Linked DNA regions of Homo sapiens: regions 2, 3, 4 and 5 are each linked to region 1. The links are contacts of gene promoters, found by promoter capture Hi-C in blood cells and fetal thymus (Javierre and others, 2016). All regions are on one chromosome and are shown on one strand. The core of a region is centred on a gene start or on the middle of the fragment in contact, and the rest is flanking DNA. Distances in the headings are between cores, read along the strand shown. Region 1 holds the start of PHB2 (prohibitin 2). Region 2 overlaps TAPBPL (TAP binding protein like). Region 3 holds the start of MRPL51 (mitochondrial ribosomal protein L51). Region 4 overlaps CHD4 (chromodomain helicase DNA binding protein 4). Region 5 holds the start of PIANP (PILR alpha associated neural protein).

Region 1 (3,960 bases), core at 546-3,045:
CTTTCGTGCTGTACCGTAATCATGTCTCCTGTAAGGACTTGGGGGACAAGAATTGTGTTTAATGAATCTTTTATTCCCAGGGCCCAGTCTAGTAAATGAATAAGCGACCTGCACTAGGTATAGCACAAAGAAGTACATTACAGGTTACAGGTGAGCTACCTGACCCAGGGTGTATATGTGTGCGTGGGTGGGGAGGAGGAAGAGGTCTGGGGAACTCAAAGGCACGGCTTTTATGTATGGTCTAGAAGGAGAGAACAGGTGAACTAGTCAAGCTTAGGGACAAACTTCTCCAGAACAGAGTGTACTAGTGGATGTAACTGTAGATATAGTAAGTCAAGCAGTTAGAAAAAAAAGGCTTTAAAACAAAGCTTTGATCTAGGCAGTGAACAAGACGAGGGACAAACAATACTCTTATTGAATACACGTCAGGGAGGAGACAGTAAAAAGCACGCAAACACAGTGTGTTCAGAATTTGCTGCTTTGACCCCAGGAGGCAGGTATTTTTGTTACAGCTCTTGCAGATGTGGAAAGAGGCCTAAAGGCCTGACACTACCATATTCCCCTGGGGTTTCTTGCCAGCTACCTTGATCATCCCACCTGCCATGTGATTACCAAGTGCTCAGACCTACCTTTGGAGCCTGTAGGGGAGGAGATTTTTCGAGGTCTGGCCCGAATGTCATAGATAATGGGGTACTGGAACCAAGGGATCCTGGAGAGGACAGGGATAGGTATTAAGAGGCCACAGTTTCGGCCGGGCGCGGTGGCTCACGCCTGTAATCCCAGCACTTTGGGAGGCCGAGGCGGGCGGATCATTTGAGGTCAGGAGTTCGAGACCAGCTTGATCTACATAGTGAAACCCCGTCTCTACTAAAATACAAAAATTAGCCGGGCGTGGTGGCGGGCGCCTGTAATCCCAGCTACTCGTGAGGCTGAGGCAGGAGAATCGCTTGAAATCAGGAGGCGGAGGTTGCAGTGAGCCGAGATCGCGCCACTGCACTCCAGCCTGGGCGACAGAGCAAGACTCCCTCTCCAAAAAAAAAAAAAGAAAAGGCCGCAGTTTCACTAGCCTTGCCCGGTTTCCCCTCACCACGCGTTTTTTGGCCTGCTCCTCTCCACGACCACAGACAAGGAGAGATTCTCTTGTCCCTCTGGAAAACAACAGTTTGTATGCTGCTGGAGGTTCTCGCAGCACCCACTATCCTAGGGGCAGGGATGAGGAGGGTGGGAAAAGAGCAGCGTTGAATCCTGTTGCACGTCCGACTATAGCCACTGCTGGGTCGGCGTCAAGGGTGAAAGGTCAGGGTCAGCAGGCTCTGCCCGCCATTACCTGAAGTGAAGGCCCTCGGCCAGGATAGTGTCCTGCTGCACTCCACCGATCCGATTGAAGAAGATGGCTCTGTGCCCGCCTTCCACTGTGGGGAGATGGGTGGTGATCAGGCCAGGCCGCTGCTCAGAGGAAATGCTAGGCCCGTGGAGGGGCGCGGGGACAGGGCAAGGGGTTTGGGGGAGGGACTGGAAGCGTCCGGCGAGCAGGCGGAGGTTGCTCACCGGTGAACACAGATTCGCGCACACCGTAGGCCACGGCGCCGGCCCCCAGCAACAGCTTCAGGGCCGTGCCCATGCCCCGGGGCCCGGCGGGCAGCCGTCCCGCCAAGTCCTTCAAGTTCTGGGCCATGTCTGATCTTGAGGCCGGCGGCACTGGAGGTCAGAAGGGGGTGCCGGCCCGCCTCTACCCCGCTCCGGCTTAGGTACTGCACCCTTCACACGAGGGTTCGGGCCCGTAAGGCTGGCGAAAGAAAGGGCAGCGGAAGTGCGCTCCCTTTGAAACCCTCCCCCTTAGCCCACTACGGACCCGAACTTCGCGCACAGGAATCGCGCATACGGAAGTCCCGCCCCTTTCTGGAAGGCTGCCCTCCCAGGGAGGGCAGCGCAAGACAGCAAGTCATCTCCATTTCCTGGCCCACTTTCAAAATGGCAGCCGGAAGGAAATTTGTGATTAGAAGCCGCGCTGTTCTTATTTAAGAGCGTTAGCGCAACTTCCGGTATTGTTGCAAGATGGCCGCGCCCAGTGATGGATTCAAGCCTCGTGAACGAAGCGGTGGGGAGCAGGCACAGGACTGGGATGCTCTGCCACCCAAGCGGCCCCGACTAGGGGCAGGAAACAAGATCGGAGGCCGTAGGCTTATTGTGGTGCTGGAAGGGGCCAGTCTGGAGACAGTCAAGGTAGTTTGGGACAGGAAGTGGAGAAGTAGTAAATCGATAGGTTGGGACTCCGTGGAATGAGGGTAAGGGGCCCAGAGTGGATGTAGAAAGCAGAGAGGGGTGAAAGATGCTTTTGAAGGAAGGTGGCTTGGTTGGCTTTGCGTTGATTTGACATCCTGGGATGGTAGTACTCATTTTTCTTTCTTTTTTTTTTTTTTTTTGAGACGGAGTCTCGCTCTGTCGCCCAGGCTGGAGTGCAGTTGCGCGACCTCGGCTCACTGCAACTTCTGCCTCCCGCCTTCAAACAGTTCTCCTGACTCAGCCTCTGGAGTAGCTGGGACTACAGGCAGGTGCCACCACGCCCGGCTAATTTTTTTGTATTTTTAGTTCAGATGGGGTTTCACCATGTTGGCCACGCTGGTCTCGAACTCCTGACCTCAAGTGATCCGCCCGCCTCGGCCTCCCAAAGTGTTGGGATTAGAGGCGTGAGCCACTGTGCCCGGCCGGTAGTACTCATTTTCTTTTGCTCTTTTTGAATGATATTCTAGCCCTCACCTCCTTGCTTCCAATTGGTTTACCAGGATTCTGTGGTATAGTAGTCTAAGCAGAGGAAAGTTTCGTTCCTTGCGTCATTCCACATCCCAAGACAAGTTACTGGGCAGATGAGAAACGTAGTTATGTAGCCTAGTCTGCCCACACTTTTTGTAAGGGCTTCGTGTTTCAATTCATTAGTATCCATAGTCACCTCTCTCTAATATCCACCTATGATACACTGTCCAGACCTGGTTATTATTTAAAACTTTTACATCTGCATTTTTATCTATCATTCATCTCTTTCCCCACATGTAATAGAACCAGCAGTTCTCTATCTTAAAGCCTTGGGCAGTGTTCTTCCTCCTCCTTTCTCTTACCCGTTAGAACTAATTGAATAGGCCCAGAAGAAATCGCATTGGTTTAGAAGTCAGGCCAGGATTTTAATCTTCGTTCTAAATACACTTTTTTTTTTTTTTTTTTTTGAGATGGAGTCTCAGTCTCTACCAGGCTGGAGTGCAGTGGCACGATCTTGGCTCACTGCAGCCTCCGCCTCCCGGGTTCAATCGATTCTCCTGCCTCAGCCTCCAGAGTAGCTGGGATTACAGGCCTGCGCCTGTAATCTATTAAAAGAATAGAAAACATGATTATATCCTACTAATGGGTTGAAACTGTATTATTCATTCAAGAAGGTTTTTTTCTTCTATAACTAAGGGTGTCTCATGGACTTAGTTCTTGGTCATTTGTTCTTTGTGCTCTCTGTGACATTACTTCAACTATTCAATTTCAAAATCTACATCCCTTTTTTCGCAGACTTTTTGGAGCCATATATCTCAAGAATGTTGCTAGACATATACATTCCAGTGATACATAAAAACTTAACCTTCCAAAACTTGTATTTGTATATAACAGTTTGTTTTTAGACTTTTTACTGACCACCCTAATGCTCCTTGGGACTCCAAATTGCAACTTGGAATTATTTCTTTTAGCTGCTACAGATGTAGTCCACTTCTTTAACATCAAACTTCTGATGTCTTTTCCAGTGTACAGAGAGTTGTTAGGATAGTGTCTGTCAGTCATTCCCATCCTGCCCTGCTTACTCCAGAATTATTTTTGGCTTTGTGCTTGATACATTAGGATTCTGTGGTTTACAAAGCAGCTTCATATATAATCACTGCCCTTTAGTGTCTCAGCTCCCAATTTTCCTCAAAATTTCCTTTCTTCGTT
Region 2 (3,960 bases), core at 695-3,194, 510 kb before region 1:
TCCACAATCTACTCTCATCTTGGCAGGAAGAAAAGGCTTCAGGCTCCTCCGCTGTCCCCAGTTAGATCCATGTGTAATCTTATTCCTCATTCTTTCTCCAGCTTCCCCTAAAGTACGACTGAGCTTGGCAAACGAAGCTCTGCTGCCCACCCTCATCTGCGACATTGCTGGCTATTACCCTCTGGATGTGGTGGTGACGTGGACCCGAGAGGAGCTGGGTGGATCCCCAGCCCAAGTCTCTGGTGCCTCCTTCTCCAGCCTCAGGCAAAGCGTGGCAGGCACCTACAGCATCTCCTCCTCTCTCACCGCAGAACCTGGCTCTGCAGGTGCCACTTACACCTGCCAGGTCACACACATCTCTCTGGAGGAGCCCCTTGGGGCCAGCACCCAGGTTGTCCCACCAGGTACTGGGAGTGTCCTCCTTTTCCCCACCTCCACACTAGGGCTCATGGCTCTCCTGCCCCAGCTCATCTATGGCCTTGTTCTGCTGCCCATCCACTTTGTTCGCAGCCCTGGCTTCATGCTCCTGCCTCTGCTCCTGACTATTTTCCCAAGGCGGCAGCTGCCACAGCTTCTACCACACATCCCCTGAGACTTCATTATACTCCAGCCTCCAGGGTGTCAGGCAATGTGCTTAAGGCTGGAGATCACAGATGAATAATTCCTGATCATGCCCTCCAGGAGCTTAGTCCAGTAATAGAGACAAGACTAAGTAGACAGAGAAGATGGCATTTGAGCCAAGTTAACTAGCTTAGAGGGAAGGGAACACTCAAGATAGAAACAATAGCATATATGAAAGCCAAATCATAAAACAGCCTAAAGAGAATTTGGAGAATTGCAAGTAATTCAGCACAGCTAGAGCTTAGGGTATATGGGAAAAAGGGAAAGTGGCTCTGAAGCTTCGGAGGTAATTCTATTTATTGAGCATTTACATGAATCAAGCAGTGTAGAAAGCACTTAAATGTATGATTTCATGGATCATGACTCCCATTTTACAGGTGAGTAAACTGGCACTTGCAGATGTCAATGAATTTGCCCAAGGTCACCTATCAATCAATGGTAAAGAGAGAATGTGAAAAACAGGCAACCGGATTCCCCTTACGGGCTTAATTAAACCCTGTAGATCTCACTGGGCCTTCAAGCTGGAACTTCCTGAGAGCCATAGCATGCTGTTGAAAGGTTTTATTTATTTATTTATTTATTTATTTATTTATTTATTTATTTTATTTTATTTTACTTTTTTTCGATACAGAATCTTGCTCTGTTCCCCAGGCTGGAGTGCAGTGGTATGATCTCAGCTCACTGCAACCTCCATATCCTGGGTTCAAGCCATCCTCTTGCCTCAGCCTCCCAAGTAGCTGGGATTACAGGCGCGCACCACCACGCCTGGCTAATTTTGCGTTTTTAGTAGAGATGGGGTTTCGCCATGATGGCCAGGCTGGTCTCAAACTCCTGACCTCAGGTGATCTGTCCGCCTCGGCTTCCCAAAGTGCTGGGATTACAGATATGAGCCACCGCACCCTGCCTGTCGAGAGGTTTTAAGCAGGAAAGGGACAGGAAAGAACCCGCAACTTGAAGTGGAAACATCCAGGAGCACTGGGCATTATTTGGTTGCTCATTAGACTGTGAACTTCCCCAAAACTGAGGTTTCACTTCAGCTCACATCATTCCCCAACTATTTACAAAATCCCAGTTAACTGGTGGTTTTTTGTTTTGCTTTGTTTTATTTTGTTTTGTTTTGAGATAGGGTCTCACTCTGTCGCCCAGGCTGGAGTGCAGTGGCACGATCTCAGCTCACTGCAAACTCTGCCTCCCAGGCTCAAGTGATTCTCCCACCTCAGCCTCCCAAGTACCTGGGACCACAGGCGCACACCAACATGCCCAGTTAATTTTTTGTATTTTTTGTACAGACAGGGTTTCACCATGTTGCCCAGGCTGGTCTCGAACTCCTGACCTCAGGTGATCCACCTACCTCAGCCTCCCAAAGTTCTGGGATTACAGGCATGAGCCACTGTGTCCAGGCAAGTTAAGTGCTAACAAATAAACCCACCTAAATCTCACTTGCAAAGCAATTTTTAAAACCTTGTCCTTAGGTGGGAAGAGGTAGAGAATTCTGTGTGGAGTAACTCACAAGTATCCAGCAACCTTGAATAAGAACAAATGCTGCTGAGTGCCTTGTTCCAGGCTCCTCAACCAGGGACTCACACACACAATCCTTAGCTCCTCCTCCCTGGGGTGGACACTGCAGGTGAGGGCTCAGCTCATGATTCCTGCGCACGATGATCCCCGCCCACGTTGCTCTCACCTACAGAGCGGAGAACAGCCTTGGGAGTCATCTTTGCCAGCAGTCTCTTCCTTCTTGCACTGATGTTCCTGGGGCTTCAGAGACGGCAAGGTAAGAGCCTGGGTGCCCTTGGCTCTGGCCCTGGCCCACCTCACCCACTCTAACCACCCCCCCGCCCAGACCAGGGTGGAAGCCCAGATGCCCCAAGCTCCAGCCACCCACCCATCACAGCCTCCTGCTTTTGAGTTTGCCCTAAATGAAAATGAAACCAGTCGTGTTCCCTCGTTTTCTCCTAGCTACCTCACTAAAGTCTGTCACTCTCCTGCCTCAGAGTAGAAAGAAAGAGTAGTCACGTGCTCCCAGAAGGACTCTAAGTCAAGTCACAGAGCTAAAAATACATGAAGGTGGCACCAGCTCATGGGGCACTGGGCCTGGCTCTGCAGAGGCCTCTGCCTTCCTTCACTGTGCACCCTGGGCTCATGCACCAAGGCAGAGAACAGGAAGAAGTGAGGGGACAAGAAGAAGGCAGAATGTCCAGATGGAGGATAAGACCAAAGAGCCAGGTTGGTGGTGTGACGGTAGGAAAACAAAGCTGGAGGAAATGGAGAAGGAACAAGTGAGGGACAATGAGGCATGGGTTGGGGCTGGGCTACCCCTCCCAAACTCAGCTCTGTCAAAATAAAAGGCCCTTGTGTCTGCTGCGACCAAGCTTTTCCACTTTCCTGTCTTTCTCCACACTGGTCCCAACTGAGCCCTGTCACCAAGCCTAGCGGCTCCAACTTGCAAAGTGTTTAAGTATGAAACAAAGGCCCTCAGAGGCACCCCCGTGGCTCCATCTCAGTTGCACCTCAGCTGCAATTAGGGTTCTGCTCCCTCGGGTGACTGCTGGGAGGTTCAGGATACCTGCAAATGCCTCACTCCCTCAGCTGCAAGGAGAGACTTCTCCTTTTTATTCGTTTCTAAAATGTGCCTAATCAATACGGTGGAACTCAGCATACCAAAACTGTACGTGAGGATGATGGGGAAAAGGGGGTAAGGGGGTGTTCACTGACAGCCTTATCTGGGCACATCCCCTGGGACAGGACAAGCAGGCCAAGGACCTAGGAAGGAGCACAGGAGGCAGATGGAAGAGGCCTGAGGGAACCTGTGCTTGTTTGCCAGTGTGAGATGCCCACGCAACTTCCTGTCTTCACTTCCTCTTACCAGCACCTACAGGACTTGGGCTGCTTCAGGCTGAACGCTGGGAGACCACTTCCTGTGCTGACACACAGAGCTCCCATCTCCATGAAGACCGCACAGCGCGTGTAAGCCAGCCCAGCTGACCTAAAGCGACATGAGACTACTAGAAAGAAACGACACCCTTCCCCAAGCCCCCACAGCTACTCCAACCCAAACAACAACCAAGCCAGTTTAATGGTAGGAATTTGTATTTTTTGCCTTTGTTCAGAATACATGACATTGGTAAATATGCCACATGCCTTTGGTGGAAGTACAACTGTTGTTATTACTCTATACAAGTATGAGATCAGGGTTAGGAAAAAAAGACAAAGAGGTGATGACAGACACACAGTGGAAACCCCACATCGTCTCATGGCAAACCGAAGAACGGGATGTGGGAAGCTCAGCTTCATTTGACTGCAAAGTCCCAGGGTTTTGTTGCACATTTGCTCATGCAC
Region 3 (3,960 bases), core at 588-3,087, 480 kb before region 1:
CTCCCAAGGTGCTGGGATTACAGGCAGGAGCCACCGCACCCAGCCACTTTATTTTTAGTAGAGACGGAGTTTCACCATGTCGCCCAGACCAGTCTCAAATTCCTGTCTCCAAGCAATCCTCCCACCTCAGCCTCCCAAAATGCTGGGATTACATGTGGGCACCATTCTGCCCAGCTGTAATTCTTAAAAATTATTATTAAAAAAGAACAAAACACATAGATGCCCTAGACTCAACTCAGCTCTACTGATCAATCTTTAGGGGTTAGGACTAGGCTTTTGAAATGTTAAAACACCCAGAAAACTGATGACCAGTCAGGCTTAGTATCCGCCATCTCTACCATTCATATGGTACTTAATGTTTCATATTTAAATGGAAAGGACACCTCACACTTTTTTGTTTTTCCTATAGTTCCTACTCAGAGAATATGCCTAATAAATATTTTATGAGAGTAGTACAGAAGTATGACTCCATTTTTCTCTTATATTTCATTTCAGTGTGGAAGGCTCTTTAGAAACACTATTAACATAACAGCATTATGTCAAAAAGCGCCAATAACATTCTCACCAACTTTTCTTTTTAAAGGAATTAGGTATAGCTAGACTGTAAAAGGCAAGTGGTGTGAAGCCCAAACCTAAGATCCTAAGATCTAGGATGAGTCAAGACTTCATAGTCTACATGAGTAGAGGCAGCATCTAGAGGAAAACAAAAGTATGTGGCTATCAAATTCCAAAGAAGCCCCATTTTATTACAGAGAAAATACAAAGCCGTTTCCTCACAGGGAAAAGTACAGTTTCCCTTCTCCAGGGTGACAGATGAGCCTTTTCCGAAGTTCTCAGCTTTCTCTTCTATCGAAACTTCCCATGTCGGTTAAAGTGTTTGTAGAGATAGCGGATGCGTTTATTAAGGTTGTGCAGGTCATCAGCGAACATTCTACTTCCAACCATTTTCCTCTTTCGGATACAACGTTGCAATTCATTCCCTTTCCAACCTCGAAGCCATATGGGCCCCCTGATCAGTTCTTTGGGGTGCTTTTCAAAGTTTCCTGTGTAATGTGAGAGAACACATTAGATCCAAGACAAGAGAACTCATCCTACACCAGCTAAGCTTTCAACCCACGGTTGCATCTTGCTGAGCAGCACCTATAGACAAGGAACATTACAGTACAGAACAATAGCACAGACTCTGGAGCCAGACTGCTTGGGGTTAAAATTCTGATGCTGCCATTTATTAACTTTGGAAAAACTGTTTATTTTTACTTATGAAGTAAAAATTATACGAGGGGACTCAGAACAGTGCCAAACACAATGTAAACAGCTACATAAGTGTTTGCTCTTACTATTGAGCACAGTACCACTCTCTACACAGGAGGAAAAGATAGTCGTTACAGCCTAATTGCCATTCTGAAATTGTGTACCACGTCGAAGGTCAAGTCTTACCCAGGATCCCGATGTTGTCATACACTCCGAACATGGCCCTTTTCTCGTTCCAACGATCAACCACTTTGGGGGGCGGGAGAGTGAGCCTTATACCGATCAATCTAGGCACACCTGGGGATGGGGAAGGGAGGGAATTAATCTGAGCCGCCTATTATACTACGAAGCAGTTATCGGGGTGCCTACATCAGCCACTTACCAAGAGAGAAGCTTCTGCACGCCAGAGGCACCCAGTCCCACAGGCGCCTACCTGCCCCGGATAAGAGGTTCCCTGCCATTTCTCTAGTCTCCCCCCTTCAACAGCACACCAAATAAGCCCAAGAAGATGACAGGAACCGTCCCCGCCAACTTCACACGAGTACTAAGGCGAAGACAGCCATCTTGGGCCTTACCCAGGCAGCTGTGGGCGCACCGCCCACCTACGCCCCATCCGCAACAGCCACGAGCCCCGCCCCCCGGGTTCCGGCAGGAGGGGCCTCTACCACCCTTCCCGCCTCAGTGCTTCCGGTCCGCCTGCCGGAAGTTTTGGAGCGCCGGACAAGCTGAGGTCCGCGACTCGTCGCTAAGATTCCCCAAAACTGAGATTTCAAGAAAATTCACCCTTTCCGCTTTCTTTGGCGTCCTTCAACCGTGAAGGAAATGAAGGTTGAGAACCTGGAACCCGCTTCCAATGACCAAGCCCTTTCTCTGTGCCTCACAACAGTCTTCCGCTGTAGCTGTTTTTATTACCCCTATTTTACTACTGGGGAGGAGATTTGAGGTCCTGAAAGTGAAGTGACTTGCTGGACGTCACTTAGCAGAGGAGATGGCGAAACCTGGATTAGAGGCGATGCCTTCTAACTCCCAGCGTGGACTTGCCTCCTTTCCTGGGGGTGACTGAATGCCCAGCCAGGGACGCGACGTCTCTGGCCAGCAGAAATACGGCCTCCTCCCCGCCGACTGGGCAAAGGGGGACCTTGCGGCCAAGGAGGGATTCGCAGGCGGGCCGGGGGTGGGAGCGGGGGCCGGAGCCGGAGCCTTGGCCCGCCCCCGGGCGGCGCTGTGATTGGCCGGCCGCTCCGGCGGGCGTCGCGATTGGCCGTCCTGCAGCCGTTGAGATTTGAACTCGGTATTTGTGGCTTTGCCCGCGCGTTGCCAGACTCAGAGGCGGCCCTTTGCCTCTGCCTGCCGGGGATTGGCCGGATTCTCCGCCGACTTGAAAACTGCCTTGCTAATTGGTGCGTGTTGTGCACGCGTGTTTTTTCCTTTTCATTTCAGCCTGACTGCCGGAATCAGAGCCGCGGGTGAGATCCCCAGGTAAGATGTGGTGTTGCAGGTCGTAAAAGAGTAGGAAAGTCGAGTACATGGCAGTGTGACCCAGTCTTGGGCAAAATACAATAGGCCTAGTAAGTATATCCCTGGGGCGCGATGTGTGAGAAACTGTAAGTCTGACAGATCCGCAACGGAAGTTGTTAAGCAAATCGCTTAACAGATCCGCAACGGAAGATGTTAAGCAAATCGCTTAACAGATCCGCAACGGAAGATGTTAAGCAAATCGCTTAACTTTCTTACTTCAATTTCCGCTCTGTAAACTCATTTGTATTATTATGCACCTCATGGGATTGAGGTTAGGATACTTAGATCAGATATGATACATGCAAACAGCCTAACAGACTTGGCACAGGATAAATAAATCATCATTGTTAATGCTCTTACCATTCTGGTGCAGGAAGCCCACTAGCCCATGCTGGGGCACTGTTTTGGCCTCAGACGAGATCAGACCATTCTCTCTATACTTAAGGAGCTTTGCACATAAAAATGGAAATAATAGTACTTTGCACATTAATATGCCACTTTATAGTTCTTTAAACACCTTCGTACTGCTTGATTTGTTTGATCATCAGAGCAACTTTGTGAAGTAATCAGAGTTTAGTAACCCTGTTTTTACAGATAAAGCCCAGAGGTTTAAGTGTCAAGACCAAGTGCCAAAGTCACTACTAGAATTAGTTTCTAGTCCAGGGTCAATCTCAGATCCCGTAAGATAATGTTACTAGCTTGCTATAAAACTAAAAACCATTATATATGTTGGGGGTGGGGAACTAACAAAACCAGATGATGTTACTAGCTTGCTATAAAACTAAAAGCCATTATATATGTTGGGGATGGGAAAGTAATAGAACCAGATACGAAGACAGGTCTTGAATATAGACCCTGACTTTTTCACTGTTTGGTTTCTAGCCCTGTGAGCCTGTAGGAGTAGAATGGCTCCCCAAATGTATGAGTTCCATCTGCCATTATCCCCAGAGGAGTTGTTGAAAAGTGGAGGGGTGAATCAGTATGTTGTGCAAGAGGTACTGTCCATCAAACATCTTCCACCACAGCTTAGAGGTAAGAGTCCATAGCTGTCACTGTACCTAGCTCTTTCAAAGGACCATCTCACATGGAATTGCTACATTGTCATTTCTGTTCCACTACACCAGGAAGCATCATAAGAGCAAGAAACATGTTTTTCCTATTTTGCTGTTTTATCCTAAAATTGCATGGGAT
Region 4 (3,960 bases), core at 408-2,907, 380 kb before region 1:
AAAAGATGAGTACACGATGCCCACCCTCCTTAAGGTTCTTGAGCATTTTCTGCAGCAGCAATAATTTCCCAGATGCTCTGATTAGGGCACTGCCATCATACATGCCATTAGGCATCTTAGGAGCTTCCTGAGAACAAATGCAAAGAAAAAAGTATTAAAAGAAAGCCCACATGGAGAAGACCCAACCCAGGGAGGAACAGGAGATGGCACTACATACCATTGCAGCCACAGGGAAGAGGTATGGATGGTTGCAGCACTTCTTAAGATCCATCACCACATTCAGCAGAGACACCTGGTTGCCACCACCTCGGGCATTGAGTGCTTCAAAATTTCGAGTGAGGATGTACTTGTAGTATTTCCTACATGGGCAAGGTAGAAAGACAGGTTAGACTTGAGAGCCTTTCAATGACTAATAATGCAGTGCCAACAACTGAGATCTTTCTTCCAACACATCCCACTTTGGAACTAAGGACACCTAACGCACAAGCACTACCACCACCACCATTTTAAATAAGGAAAGGTATAACCTAAAATAAGTAAGAACTATGCGCTCCAGCGCCCTAGCATCAGGTTTCTTCAGGCCTTGCTTGCTCCTGTCACCAGATGCCTTGAAGCTGAGTGGGGGAGGAATAGGAAACACTCTGCAGACTGGCAGATGTCTAAATGGAGTCTGCTTCTGTCCCTCCCAACTCACTTCTGCATAGGGCTCAGCTCCACACGCACAATTAGTTCTGTCTTGGAGGGCATGTTCTTGAACACATCGGCTTTGAGCCGCCGCAACATGTGCGGCCCCAGCATGTCATGCAGTTTTTTTATCTGGTCCTCCTTGGCAATGTCAGCAAACTCCTCCAAAAAACCTTCCAAATTGCTTCAGAAAGAAAAAGGAAAAAAGTTATTGGAGAAGGAGAAAGGAAGAAAGAAAAGTGATACAGGAAATGGGCAACAGGAAGAATGAGAGGCACAATTATGAGCCGATTACAGATAAACACATACTTACTGGAACCTCTCGGGGGTGAGAAAGTTGAGCAGATGAAACAACTCTTCCAGATTGTTTTGTAATGGTGTCCCAGTCAGCAACAGCTTGTGCTGGAGTGAGTAACCATTCAATACCCGGAAGAACTGGTGAAGCAGATGGAGAAAGGTGAAATCCAATGAAAACAGAGCTCTAGCAAATCTCTACAAAATTTCAAGTTTTTCACTGCCCAATAGTTAAGCATCCCACTCCTCACATTCTTTTTAAAGGCCTGGCCACCAAGGGCTGTCACATACAAGGAAGGAAGGCAGAGACAATTTTCCCCTCTCCTCTCCATCTACAAGTTTTCCCCTTAATGAATTGGTAGTACTAGAAAAAACCCAAAGTGGGGGCTCCAACATCCCTCCCTCAGCCCTCACCTTAGACTGATTGTTCTTCAGCCGATGGGCTTCATCCACGATGAGGCAGGCCCAATCAATAGAGCCCAAAATAGCCATGTCAATGGTGATCAATTCATAGGATGTCAGCAGCACATGGAATTTCACAGATGCCTCTTTCTGCACATGAAGGCAACTTGGTCACTACTAGTCAGTTCCTCTGTGTAAGCACAACCAGGAGACTGATGGAATGTTTTCCTCCTCCCAGGGTTACCCTTTTGCCTCACCAGGGACCAGATCACAAGGAGGTAAACTAAGCCAGAAGCCACAACTCTTTCTCTAGGGTGGCTTCCCTCCCCTGAGATACCTTCATGCGGGAGGCCTTCTTGCCACCACGAATGGCATTGTCTTCAAAGGAGAACTCATTCTCTCGGATGATGGCACGGCTGTCCTTGTCACCCACATAGGTTACGACATACATGTCTGGAGCCCACATTTCAAACTCCCGCTCCCAGTTGATGATGGTAGAAAGAGGGGCGCTCACTAGGAAGGGGCCTTTGGAATGACCCTTTGAGAAAAAAGAGGAGAGTCAGGACTGAGGGCCCCAGCACACTGCAACCCCAGCGAACACCCACCACCCTGCTGCCCCCTCAAGCTGAGCCAAGGACTGACACACCTGCGCTGCTGCTCCTGCTCTCACCTTCCTCTATACAAGTGCCCAGCCCACTCCTTTCCAAAAACCCAAGGTCCCACCATAACTACAAGTCTTACCTCTCCCATTAAGTCTTTATATACTTTTTTTCTGAGACGGAGTTTCACTCTTGTTGCCCAGGCTGGAGTGCAATGGCGCAATCTCAGCTCACTGCAACCTCCACCTCCCGGGTTCAAGCGATTCTCCTGCCTCAGCCTCCCAAGTAGCTGGGATTACAGGCGTGCACCACCACATCCGGCTAATTTTGTATTTTTAGTAGAGACGGGGTTTCGCCATGTTGGTCAGGCTGGTCTCGAACTCCTGACCTCAGGTGATCCACCAACCTCGGGCTTCCAAAGTGCTGGGATTACAGGTATGAGCCACTGCGTCCAGCCAAGCCTTTCCATACTAATTCTACTCATAATTCTACTTCCCTCAACACACAATCATTCCCCTAGAACTGATACTCTATGGATCCACTGCTAATCCTACCCAGGGCTCCATGCCCTCAAATCTTCCGCTGTGTACATGTGTTTATCCACTATCACATTTATCTACTATCTACTAAACACATGTGTACATGTGTTTATCTATTATCCACAGTGTTCTTGAAGGTCAGAGACCAATTTTTTTATTCCCTTATCTCTCTACTCAGTGTAAGTTAAGGCTTCAAACACAAAACACCCACACAAAAAACTATCCACCCCAGATTTCCTTACCTCCTTGTAAAGGGAATACAGGAAGACTGCTGTCTGTACAGTTTTCCCAAGGCCCATCTCATCAGCCAAGATGGTGTCAGTGCCCTGAGCCCAGGAGAAGCGCAACCAATTCAGGCCCTCCATTTGATAGGGGTGCAGGGTTCCACCTGTAGCATCCAGGTACTCTGGCTGTCGCTCATACTTCACTGTTGGCTGAAGGATGAAACAGAGAAGTCAAGAGCTGGCAAGGAACTCCCCTCCTCCCCTAATAGAGCAGCTGCTTCCTCCTCACTAGTCTTCACGGATCCTCTTGGGGAAGAGCTCCGGAAAATTCGGAGGGAAGAGATCCCCTATGATTACTGCAATTTCATGTTCAGTTTAGGGTCCTCCAGGAAACAGGGCTTAACCAGACCTGATTTTGATCCTACAGATCACTGAGGAAAAGCACGTCACAGACTCCCTACCAATACAATAATTCTACTAGTCAGGATCCACCAGGTAAATAATCGTTATGTCCCTCTTAGATTCATCTTTTTAACTTTAATCACCCTCAAATTACACTGTACAAACAAAACCCAGAGGAACTGAGCCTGAATTAAGCCAGATTCCTATGTAAGTGCATAAAAGCTAGGCTATGTGGCCCCTCCCCCCAGACAACACTTCTTCAATCATTCAAAATATACCTCCTTTTTTTTTTTCTGATGACAAAAGAAGAAAGTAATCCTAGTGCTTTCTGATATATAGAGATGTGGAGAAGTGGGGAAGCCGACTTTGTGAAGTAATCTCAGCTACAAAGTTACTATCTGCATTTCATTACTTAAGAGTACCATCATTAGACTGCAGCAAAGATACATTGTCCTACCCAACAAACTACAGTCCCTTCCACCCCCACTCACATCAACTGTTGGCGTTTCTGGAGGCCTCTCCAACTTCCGAAGCTTCACCTTCTTGAGCTTCTTGCCTGGTCGGCCTTCCTCACCCCTCATTAACTCCCTAAAGAAGAAAGACATCACACAGCTGCCCAAAATCCTTTTCTATAGAAGAAACAACTTGGCCAGGCACAGTGGCTCACACCTGTAATCCCAGCATTTTGGGAGGCCAGCACTTTGGGAGGCTGAGACGGGCGGATCACCTGAGGTCAGGAGATCGAGACCAGCCTGGTCAACATGGTGAAACCCCGTCTCTACTAAAAATACAAAAATTAGCTGGGCATGGTGGCAG
Region 5 (3,960 bases), core at 764-3,263, 270 kb before region 1:
TGGGTAAAGAATCCTGGGAAAATCGGGATGGTTGGTTTTGAAAGAGAAAGGGTGTGTTCTCAGAGCTGAGGGTGGTGGATCCAGGAGGGGCAGGCTCCCCAGAGGGAGTGAAGATAGGATACCCGTTTCCTGTGGATTCTGGGTCTAAATCTGCCCAATGGGCCAGACGCAGTGGCTCACGCCTGTAATCCTAGCACTTTGGGAAGCCAAGGCGGGTGGATCACCTGAGATCAGGAGTTCGAGACTAGCTTGGCCAACATAGTGAAACCCCGTGTCTACTAAAAATACAAAAATTAGCCGGGGGTAGTGGTGGGCGCCTGCAATCCCAGCTATTCAGAGGGCTGAGGCAGAAGAATCCCTTGAACCTGGGAGGCGGAGGTTGCAGTGAGCTGAGATCACACCATTGCACTCCAGTCTGGGCAACAAGAGCGAGACTCCGACTCAAAAAATAAAATAAATAAATCTGCCCATTGAATCTTCCCAGAGAACAACAAGGGAACAAGATGGGAAAGTCACGGGAAGGGCGTGGGGAAGCAGGCAGTGGGAGAGATGGGAAGGGGTGAAGGGCTGGGAGATGGAAGGCTGGTTAAGAGTGAGAGAGGAGAAATGTGAAGAGGAAGCTGGCCTGGAGTGCAGGGTGAGAGAGAGCAGGCAGTCCTGAAAAAGAGAGAACTGGGAAGAGAGGAGGAGAGTGGGTACAGAAGACTCGAACTGTGGAGGATGCCGAAGGGAGGAAAGGATGAGAGAAAAGGTCAGGGAGGGGAAACGGAGAGGATGAAGGGGTCACAGGTGCAGGGGAAGAAGGGGCAGGAGGAGAAGGAGAGAGCGGTCCAGGCAGGACAGCCAGAGGAGTGGAGAGTAAGGGGATGGGAGAAAAGGGGGGAAAGCCCAGGATGGGGAGAAAGGAAGTGGGGAAGGAGAGAACATAAATGCTTAAGGAAAAATGACACGAGGAACGGGCTGGGAAGCAGAGGCGGGAGCAGCAAAGATGGAGGAGTTCGGAATTGCTCCCCCAAATGTAAAGGGATGTGGAGATACCGAAAGACATAGGGATGGGGGCATGGTGGGAAGAAGGGAGAGAGAGGGGAAAGGAAGAAAGCTAGAGGGAGGGAGCGAGGCGTGTAGAGCGAACCAGTGAAGCGGAGAAGGGCTCCCAGGGCGCATCTGTGGCCAGCTGACTCTAGGACTATCGCCCCTCCGCCTGTGCATCCCCACCCCCAGCCAGCGCCAACCCAGTCCCTGGGCCCCGCACAGCTTCAGCCGCCCCCTCCAGGAAGCCCGCAGTCCCCGGGCTGGCGCGCCACCCCCACCCCTCTCCCAGCTTCTCACCGACCTGTTGTGCGCAGGAGACGAGCTGGGGGTGGGGCAGGAGCCTCGGGGTGCGGGAGCCGGGCCCCAGCCCCAGCGTGGCCCCCATCCCACCCATCCCGCAGGCCCGCACTCCCCGCACAGGGCTGGAGAGCGGCGAGAGTGGGGGGAGACGAGGAAAAGGAGGTCGGCGAAGGGACCCCGAGGCAGGGAGTGCCGAGAGCGGACTGGGGACCCGAAGCAGGAGACTGCGCGGAGCCGCCCGCCGAGCCGAGGCGGGATGGAGGCAGCCGCGGGGACGGGGACGGCTGCGCCAGGGAGGGCGGGAGCGAGCCAGGACCGCGGAGGGATGGAGAGCCCTTCGGGGAAGGGGCGCTGGGAGGCTGGAGGCCTTGTCCCGGGCGAGGGACCGCGTCGGGAGGGGCAGGAGGCGCAGGGCGCGGAGCCGGGAAGGGCAGGGCCGGGCTCCCCGCGGGTGGGGGCGTGGGGGTCCCTCTCACTCACCTGCATGCTTGGCGCGGCGGCGCGACGACTGCGGGCGCTCGGGACTGAGCGGGGCTGGGGGGTCGCAGGAGCGGGCGGGGTGCGGGGCATGGTGGGGAGGTTTGGCCCGCGGCAGGGCGCTGGAGCGGGTGGGGGGCGGGCGCCTGGGGCGCGGGGCGGCGGCGGTGGGAGATGCTCGCCTCGGCTCGGCTCGGCTCGGCTCGGCTGGGCTCGGCGCGGCGGCTGGGACCGCTCCGTCTCCGTCTCCGCCTCCCCCCCGCGCCGGAGGCCACGCACGGTTTAACCCTCCTGCTGCCGCGCTGCAGGAGTCAAGCCAGGCTATGTCCCAGGTGGAGGGCTGAAGAGGCTGGCAGGGTCCAGCGACCGTCCGCTTCCCTGGGTTCTGATGGCAGTCTCCCCACCTCCTTCACCCCAACTCCAGGGACACCCATGGTCGCCTCAGTCAGTTTCTGAGATTCTGAGTCACTCAATGCTCTGCATTCCCAACTTTGTTCTTTTGTATTGTGTTTTGTAGAGATGAGGTCTCGCTGTGTTGCCCAGCCCGGTCTCGAACGCCTGGGCTCAAGCGATCCTTCCCGCTCAGCTTCCCGGAGTGCTGGGATTACAGGCGTGAGTCACCACTGCCTGTCCCCCAACTTGGTTTTGCCCGCTGTAGAAAGTGCCTGAGGTCAAGGCTGGGGGCAAGGGGTGGAGGAAAGGACTGGGGAGGAAGGACCTTGCACCATCTTTGGATTATCCCCACAGCTTGATCCCCTATTTCACTCTGGCCCTGCTACCATGCATTAAGTGGATCACGTCGAAATTCCTGGGCTTTTCCAGCACTGGAATACCTAGACTCCGTGCTGTGACTTACAAGACCCTATATAACCTGGCTCTTAGGTGGCTCTCTGATTGCCTTTCCTAAAGATTTCTATGCTTCAGCCACATGGGACCTGGTGGATTTCCTGGTTGGAGACAGGTTTAACCTGCCTCAGGGCCTTTGCACTTGCTGTTCCCTCAGTAATACATTTCCCTGGCTTTTCACAATGACTTACTGTTTTCATTCCAGTCTCACTTAGATCCAACGCCTTCTGGGAGGCCTTCCCTAATGTCTCTATCAAAAGTAGCCTCTCCTGCCCCTTCTCCCACCACCTGGATCCCATCCCTCTCTACCACACTACGCTGTTTTTCCTCAGGGCACTTCCAGGACACCACACTCTCCTCATTTCCCTCCAACCTCACTGACTGTTCTTAGTCTTCCTCGGGTGACCTCTAAATGTTGGAGCCTCCTAGGGCTTAGTCCTTGGCCATTCTCTCTTTCCACATTCTCTGTCCAGTGATCTCATCCGGTCCCAGGGCTTAAATACTATGTAAATGTCAGTGAGTCCTAAATTTATATCCAGAGCGCCAGACTCATTTATCCGACAGCCTACTTGACATCTCCACTTGGATGTCTAATAGCCATGCAAAGCTAACTTGACTAAAATAGATGTCTTGAATTCCCCCACCCCCAATCCATTTTTCTCCCAGTGATCCCCATCCTGAGGCTTCACAACTACTAGTTGTTCAGGCTAAAAATCTAGGAAACATCCCTCCCTTCCCCTTTTTTTCACTGATTCTCTCCCTGTATCTAATTCACCAACAAGTCCTGTGGGCTCTGCGTCCAAAATATATCCCGAATTCATCTCCTTCTATCTTTATTGCTATAGTCTTGGTCTAAGCCATCATGTCTCATCCAGATTATCATAATAGCTTCCTCACTGGTCCCTGCTTCTGCCCTTGTCTTTACAAACTAGTTTTTCCTATATTGATAATATTTTAAAAATCAAAAGCATGTCATGCTCTTCTCTGCTTAAAATATTCGAGTGGTTTTTCATTACACTTGGAATAAATCTGAACTCCTTGTAAGGAGAAGCCCACCAGCCTGTACCCACCTCATACACAGTGCTCCTGCTGGATCAGACTACTTGCTGTTCTGTAACATCAGAAGTCATTCTCTTAGCATCCCTGCACTTTTTTTTTTTCTCGAGACAGTGTGTCTCTCTGTTGCCCAGGCTGGAGTGCAATGGCACGATCTCAGTTTACTGCAACCTCCGCCTCCCAGGGTCAAGCAATTCTCCTGCCTCAGCTTCCCAAGTAGCTAGCGTGTGCATGCAGGGGGGCCCTTCC

Evidence for each region. The method cuts DNA at HindIII sites, captures the fragments that hold promoters and counts their contacts. A CHiCAGO score of 5 or more calls a contact.
Region 2: a contact is called between a fragment that was not itself captured here and the fragment with the promoter of PHB2 in region 1, in 2 of 17 cell types (naive CD8 T cells and activated CD4 T cells). The highest score is 5.9, in naive CD8 T cells.
Region 3: a contact is called between the fragment with the promoter of MRPL51 here and the fragment with the promoter of PHB2 in region 1, in 10 of 17 cell types (non-activated CD4 T cells, total CD8 T cells, total B cells and 7 more). The highest score is 13.8, in non-activated CD4 T cells.
Region 4: a fragment that was not itself captured here is called in contact with the fragment with the promoter of PHB2 in region 1 in 5 of 17 cell types (non-activated CD4 T cells, naive CD4 T cells, total CD8 T cells and 2 more); the score reaches 7.5 in non-activated CD4 T cells.
Region 5: the fragment with the promoter of PIANP here is called in contact with the fragment with the promoter of PHB2 in region 1 in 8 of 17 cell types (non-activated CD4 T cells, naive CD8 T cells, total B cells and 5 more); the score reaches 11.8 in non-activated CD4 T cells.

What each region holds. Positions count from the first base shown.
Region 1 is chr12:6,968,869-6,972,828 of GRCh38, forward strand. PHB2 (prohibitin 2) reads right to left here and starts at 1,796. Exons shown (of 10, transcript NM_001144831.2): 1 at 1,549-1,796; 2 at 1,328-1,412; 3 at 630-709. The coding sequence starts at 1,675. It overlaps EMG1 (EMG1 N1-specific pseudouridine methyltransferase), which reads left to right and starts at 2,045. Exons shown (of 6, transcript NM_006331.8): 1 at 2,045-2,223. The coding sequence starts at 2,056. RefSeq lists enhancers at 1,720-2,322, 1,843-1,912, 2,003-2,182, 2,233-2,352. The HindIII fragment of the contact is 5,065 bases long and covers 367-3,960 here.
Region 2 is chr12:6,458,544-6,462,503 of GRCh38, forward strand. TAPBPL (TAP binding protein like) reads left to right here. Exons shown (of 7, transcript NM_018009.5): 5 at 102-404; 6 at 2,312-2,395; 7 at 3,491-3,773. The coding sequence ends at 3,606. It overlaps VAMP1 (vesicle associated membrane protein 1), which reads right to left. Exons shown (of 5, transcript NM_014231.5): 5 at 3,694-3,960. Among named protein-coding and RNA genes, the nearest start is that of TAPBPL, 8.5 kb to the left of the region's middle. The HindIII fragment of the contact is 2,094 bases long and covers 898-2,991 here.
Region 3 is chr12:6,491,425-6,495,384 of GRCh38, forward strand. MRPL51 (mitochondrial ribosomal protein L51) reads right to left here and starts at 1,838. Exons shown (of 3, transcript NM_016497.4): 1 at 1,634-1,838; 2 at 1,438-1,548; 3 at 462-1,043. The coding sequence starts at 1,712. The coding sequence ends at 847. It overlaps NCAPD2 (non-SMC condensin I complex subunit D2), which reads left to right and starts at 2,678. Exons shown (of 32, transcript NM_014865.4): 1 at 2,678-2,730; 2 at 3,652-3,801. The coding sequence starts at 3,675. RefSeq lists enhancers at 2,056-2,105, 2,273-2,870 and a silencer at 2,306-2,635. The HindIII fragment of the contact is 4,003 bases long and covers 1,643-3,960 here.
Region 4 is chr12:6,591,699-6,595,658 of GRCh38, forward strand. CHD4 (chromodomain helicase DNA binding protein 4) reads right to left here. Exons shown (of 40, transcript NM_001273.5): 14 at 3,636-3,732; 15 at 2,761-2,952; 16 at 1,718-1,918; 17 at 1,393-1,530; 18 at 998-1,119; 19 at 695-868; 20 at 218-359; 21 at 1-127. Among named protein-coding and RNA genes, the nearest start is that of CHD4, 14 kb to the right of the region's middle. The HindIII fragment of the contact is 4,036 bases long and covers 1-3,675 here.
Region 5 is chr12:6,698,802-6,702,761 of GRCh38, forward strand. PIANP (PILR alpha associated neural protein) reads right to left here and starts at 2,014. Exons shown (of 5, transcript NM_001244014.2): 1 at 1,813-2,014. RefSeq lists an enhancer at 794-1,295. The HindIII fragment of the contact is 12,862 bases long and covers 1-3,960 here.